Linked DNA regions of Homo sapiens: region 2 is linked to region 1. Evidence: promoter capture Hi-C in human tissues and cell types (Jung and others, 2019). All regions are on one chromosome and are shown on one strand. The core of a region is centred on a gene start or on the middle of the fragment in contact, and the rest is flanking DNA. Distances in the headings are between cores, read along the strand shown.

Region 1 (3,057 bases), core at 314-2,813:
ATGATGGTCCTATCTCAGAATCCAAAGAGTAAGAGAGCTGCATAAAACCCTAAAAAGAAGGGGAAAAATGAGAAGTCTTCACCCTTCACCAAGGAATTGCCACATCAAGTTTGTTAACTGAGCCCAAGAAATAGTGACAGTTCTGACAGTCCTAGGAAAACCACTAAATTGTAGACTTCAGTGTTGAAGTCCTTAAGAGGCAGAAATTAGCATTGCTTATAATTGTCTTCCCATTCCCTGTCACTTCTACCTTCCTCTGTACCCCACATCTAGGATGGCAGCAAGTGAGGGGGCAAATAGAGTTCAACTCCATTATCATTTAGACCAATCTGCACATAAAGAAATAGCCATCAAGATTTAGATTCCAAATTTTCACTCATGCCATTGAAGGACGTTCAGTTGCCTCAAAATTCAGAAAACCAACACTTGCCTCTGTTGGACAAAGGAGGAGACAAAAGTGCAGAGAAGCCATTGAATCATTTAATAGTCTTCATAAATTATGAACCAAAGTTTCATATAGTCTGAAATGTAAGGAAGGAAGTCACTGACAACCATGGATAAAATCCAATTCCTTACAATAAAACAGCACTGAAATTTGCAAATGATCAACCAGATTGAGAAAGCCCTGATGGATATAATGGGCTAGAATGACCAATTACCTCAATGTACTTCCAGGAGAAGCAGACTCAAGTGTTTAGGTGTCATAATCATTAGTAACTTAGGCTGAGCAGGATGATTATATCTACAATAATACATTACACCAGCTCTTTTTCCCCAGGGGCATCAATATGCTAATGAGAAAACTAATGAACAAACTTCATTTAGGTTTAATGTCTCTAAGAATGAAATTTCACAGATTTCAAGTTTTCTTATGAACGGTTTAATAAAAATATATTTCCAAGGTACCCTTCCAAACTTTACTGAGGAGGCAGTCCCCAATCTGTAGGAAAACCATCATAAGACCCGGGAGACAAATGTAAAAATTTTTCCCACCTGCATTTTTAGAGAAGAAACTAACCAATTCTTTACAGCTCTCTCATTGCCCTAGAATTGAAGCAACTGCTTCTGGCAGGGCTTATGAGCAGCTCACCATGGACTGTCACATCCCATGGAGAAATTAATTGGTTTTCATCACTTTATTTCAAAGTTTCTGCTTAATCCCAAACTAGAGATTGTATCTTTTATAAAGCAAATGGCTTAGAGTTTACTCCTTTGTAATGAAGTAATAATCAATTAAGATTGTGAACATTTAATACCTTTGTTTTATTATTTAATTTACTTTTAACAATTTAAGAAAATTGGAGATTCTGCCAAATATTCTACCCTCCCATGTTAGGTGGGGCTGGTACCCTGACTGTCAGGAGGCAAGGTCTGTGAACCTCGTGCCAAATAGCTACGTGAGCAAATAGTGAGATAAACAAGCCATTTGTGGAGACAGAGGTGGAGCTGGGCTTGGTTAGGAATGAATCAGGCCATCCCACAGAGTGGGTGTCTCCTTCCCAAGTTGCTTTCCAGGGCACAATTAAAACCCCTATAAAAGGCCCAGCTCCCAGTTACCCAGTACACTTGCCTGTGGTGTCAGCAAGCACTGTCGACTTCTTCCTCTGGTGAAGTGGGTAAGTCCCATTCTGTGGGATCGTGGTCTTCTTTATGATTCTCCATTTTTATAGCTATTTCAGATGTTGGGATATGGGGGGAGGTTCCATGTGCCAGAAGGTATCAGTATTTTGCAGGGATAAATAAACTATCACTAACTCTATCCCATCTTCTTATGGTTGGAGCCATCACTTGAACTGAAGCATGACCCTTCTCCTTGGGCTCTGAACTCTATACTTCTGCACATCAAGGATGATCATGTGTGGCTCTGATAGGGTTCATCTTCCTAAAAACTGCTATCTCAAAAGTTTGCCAGCCTTCTGTTCTCTTTTACATTGGTTCTACCTAATATGGGCCATCTTCATACAGTCACAGCATTTAAGGTACTGGAGTTGAGAAGTACATAAAGAAGTCAGCTAGATGAACGACTACACTTATCCCACCAGCAAAGCCATTCCATGTATTCTTATAACATTGATCTACTGCTGGCTAATGTTTTATAAAAAGCCAAGATTCCAATGATGCATTTGGGTTTAACAAAACCAATATCATTCACAGTTTTCTGGATTCCGTTTGGTTTAGAAAGGACCTCTCAGAAGCTTTCAATACTTCAATATCCGAATATCTTACTATATCTGAGTTGAGGCAGGTAATATACAGTCTCTGTTTTCTGCATTTGTGTATCTGAATGTTACAATGCCATCTTTTGACTAGGAAGAAGTACTATTTAATCTTAGAATTGCTGACTTACAAATTATATTCTATAAGAGTTCCTAAATCCTTTATGGACTGTAATGTTGAGGAATCATTCATATTCCCTTTTCATTGTTCTATTTTCTACCAACTGTTTTGCTGACATGGCCTCTATCCACTTTAAGATACTCTCAAGTCTTCCTTCACCTTTTGGCTTTTACCTGTCCTCTTCGCTCAACTTTAAAGGAAGGTGTGTAGACATATATAAAATTTTAATTTCTGCACTCTTCTCTTAATTTTCTACTCTGAAATACGGTGGAGAGCTGGAAGAAAGACAGAAGAAAAGGGCATAGATAATCCACATTGGGTGGACAATCAAAAGCTGACAACAGGATAGTCTGAAGATGATTCCCTGGCTTGGAATTTCTCAGGATCGCTCTTTCTCTTTCTGATACAATATTCAAATATTAAAGTGCTCTGAAAGTCCAGGTTGAAATTACCGCTATAAATTCAAATTATTTAGGGATCTGCCTGAAATAGTGTGAATGAAGCCTTCCCAAAAGCAGAAACGGGATTTTGATTCTGGATCTTATTTTATTGTTCTAGGTTTACTTGAACTTGAAGGAAAGAAAAAAAAATGTCTCCACTTCTGAGAAGCATCTGTGACATCACTGAAATTTTCAATCAGTATGTCTCTCATGATTGTGATGGAGCAGCATTAACTAAGAAAGACCTGAAGAACCTCCTTGAAAGGGAATTTGGAGCTGT
Region 2 (3,499 bases), core at 495-2,994, 44 kb after region 1:
GGGAAGGCTCCCAGGAGAAGATGGAGCTTGGCCAGCAGGGATGGGCCTGGTTCCTCTCAGGCCGAAAGGACCAGCATTAACAAAGGCATGGAGGCAGGCGAGAGGGTGTGGTGCTCAGAGAGCCAGGAGTACAGTCAGTCCTATTCCAGATATGGGCAAACAGGAGAGAAGCCTGGATGGTGAGGAGGGCCTGTGATGGAGTCTCCTAAAAACAGCCATAAACCTTATTTCTTGAGGGCTTGTCAAAGCACTGAGATAGGAGTTGCAACCCCAGCACTGTCCTTTCCACAAGGACCCATCCTAGGCACCATTTTAAGGAAAGAAAGTAAAAATAGAGAAGAGAATTTGAAGAAAAGATGGAATTCTTCCATCACTATCGATATATGTCTGGGTGTGTATGTTGCCTAAAGGGGCCAGCAGGCTTCATGACAACATTAGGATTGTCCAGAACCTTCAGAAAATATCACATGCATTTCTTCCTGACCTCCACAAACCACTGAAGGAGAAACCGGGGAATGTTTCAGAGCCAACTCTGAGGGTGGCTGATGACACACAACTACCCCTGAAGGGACCCCCAAGAAGGTGGACAGGAGTTTCTTTGAGGTCCATGTCTGGGCAAGTGGAGCATGAGGATGAGGCTACCTGGAGGCTGAGACAGGGAGCTTGAGGCAGACAGGAAGCCTCTCAGGAGCAATGCTTCTTTGCTGAGCCCTTTAGATCAAGCTTAAAGCTCAGGCGTTTTTGTAAAGCCATGAGAATATTCTGGTTTCCACTGGGTGGGTTGAGGTGGTTTTGAAACACAGAATCTGAAACTTGCCCAGCCGAGTTACTAGCTCTATTTGAGTAAACTGCAGGACAATAATTTTTCTCAAACAAGCGTTTAGTTAACTGTTCCTCACCATTCCCCTCACTTCTCCATGATTCTATTCCAGGCCTGGGAGTGGTGTGGAATCAGATCAAGGAGTTCATGTGGTTTCTGGTCTCAAGAAGCATATGATCTGGCCCAGGAGATGAGGCTAAACCACAGAAGAAAACCATGTGGAGACTTGCGTACCATGTCCACCTTGGTTTTCTCTACTTCTAAAGACGGAAAAGCTCAGAAAGAAAAACACCAAACTGATAATGGTCATTGCCTCTGAGAAAAGTAAAAGGGAATCAGGAGAGACAGTAGTAGTCAAAGAAGTCTTAGATGTCATCAAGTAATGTTTCAATTTTTTCAAGGATCAGGAACGTATGTATTATTTGTGTATAAATAAAAATTACTTTGAGATCTATAATTACTTCCATATGTTTTAATCACAAACAAGAAAATCATACCCCATACTGATTTGGGTCTTACTTAAAATCCTTAACAATCATAGTTTCAGAAAAAGGTCCTGATACATAAGGAAAATCAGTTAAATGTTAACATTCTTTGGCCACTGGGTTTATTATCTTCTTCTAAGAAAGACACAAGGGATGAGAATTTTCTGCTTTTTTCCATTTTCTGATCAAGAAAAGCTTGACTGAGCTGACCAAGAACATGTCAAGGATCTGAGAGTCCCCCGCCATGCCCCAGTTCATTCAGTTACATCCCTTCCTAATTGGGAACATGTTTAGGGGAGCCTACATTTCTGTAATTACTGGCCCCAGTGTATTTTTAAAAGCCTCATTCAGATGGAACAAATTCTTTGCATTTAATCATGCTGAACCTCATAATAAACATAATAACTGGGATTTGCACGGTGCTTTTCTTCAGAATGAGCTTAAAACACATTATAATCCAGTGCTTCCCTGAGCCACACCGTATCCTTATGACACATCCAAGAAATGGTGACCACTAGATCCCACTGCTGAGGCTCAGAGGGATTTGGTAAGATGCCTGAGGTCACAGAGCAGGCAAAGTCCAAATGTGCACTCAGGATAGCCACCCCAGCAGCAACTCCTCCAATCACCAAGCTTCTCCTACAGACAACTTGATGCCTTCAAATGACTCTGGCAGTCTCCTCTTATCTGTAATCATGGCTGTGGACACTTTCCAGGAAACTCCTCCCAGGCAGTGTCAAGACAAACCTTGACGCTGAGGGGCAAAGACCACGTCATCAGAAGAGTGTCACCACAGAAGTCATTCTGTCACCATTGCACATGGACTCTGGGTCAGAAAATGTCCTGTTTGTACAGGCAGTGTGGGTGGTAAGCATGGGCCCTGGCACCAAGCAGGCCTCCCCATTGTGTGACTATGGCAGGCTATCGCCTGGTGTGGACACACAGTAAGCGTCTCTTTCCCTTCTCATAGCAAGAACTGGATGCATTCATTTTCAATCTACTTGTCTTTTATTTTCCCTGATAGAAACTAATAAATTTTTAGGTAAAAGAACGAAAGGGAAGATCAAACTGAATGGAGACTTCAGGTCTGAAACAAATGGGGTGGGAATAGAGAGGTAGAAGAGACAGAGGTAAGAAAAGGCACACAAAGAAAGGGACAATGAGAAACAGAAAGAGATTGAAATGTTGAAAGGGGGGAAGACAAAAGGAAGACGGAAAAGAGAACAGAGAGAGACCATCAGAAAATGAGAAAGAGTGGAGAAAAGCAAGAAGGCCCAGGAATCAGATGAGCCAAACTCAGGAGAGACGGGCAGCAGACCAGGTGTGTCAGCAACAGCAGCCCGGAGACCACAGGCAAACCCAGAAGCTACAGGTCTGGCTGCCAAAGACGATTTACCAAGAGGGTGGGGAGACATTTGCACAAGGATAATTCCTCTCAAAAGCAAGGCTTTTCAAAGCAAGAATTATAATTATCTCTGTTACTCTTATTAATCACTCTAACGGCAACTAATGACCACACGGAGCCAGTTCATCAGGCTCCTGCCCTTTAGACACACAGGGAGAAAGACCTGCCTCCTCCTCCTTCAGTAGTCACCCATGCCTTGGGCTGTCTGAATACGGGCAAGAAAGAGTTTCCTACACAAATTCAAAAATAATGAAATATTATTGAGTCAAGTATCTAGAATATTTCCTCATAGAAACTATTTTGTTTTGTTTTGTTTTGTTTTGAATAAATAATACACTTTAGACATTCTAGAAAAATAAACTCCCCAGGGCCATGGGGATGTTCAGGAGAGAAACTGAAGAGAAGACATTTTATATTTTTATTACAGACATCAGGAAAAGCTCAAAGTGTCTTTATTACATACAATTTTAGAAGTCATGTGGGAGACTTAAAAACAAACAAACCAAATTAGATGTAAAAAAGATTTAGGATCCAGGCTTGTTTTGCTTTGGGAAATAGCAGTAGCCTATGGCCCCAGTATCCCCCCACACAGGAAAGGTGTCTCCTTGTGGAGCTATTCTCAAAATCAGGGTGAGCAGCAAAAAAAAAAGAGCTACCATGCTCCTCAGGAAATACATTTGCCTGTATTCACTTATCTGATTTTATAGCTCTTCAAACTCTTTGTCATATCCACAGGCTATTAAAGATTTCTCCAGTACTGCTCACCTCATAGCCATTAACAAGATGATA

Evidence for each region. Contacts are between HindIII fragments. The study calls those that stand out against the background at their distance.
Region 2: a fragment that was not itself captured here is called in contact with the fragment with the promoter of TCHH in region 1 in 3 of the 25 tissues and cell types used here (H1 embryonic stem cells, adrenal gland and thymus).

The regions. Positions count from the first base shown.
Region 1 is chr1:152,113,950-152,117,006 of GRCh38, reverse strand. It overlaps TCHH (trichohyalin), which reads left to right and starts at 1,563. Exons shown (of 3, transcript NM_007113.4): 1 at 1,563-1,616; 2 at 2,896-3,057. The coding sequence starts at 2,927. The HindIII fragment of the contact is 12,190 bases long and covers 1-3,057 here.
Region 2 is chr1:152,069,789-152,073,287 of GRCh38, reverse strand. No RefSeq gene overlaps it. Among named protein-coding and RNA genes, the nearest start is that of TCHHL1, 18 kb to the left of the region's middle. The HindIII fragment of the contact is 3,370 bases long and covers 60-3,429 here.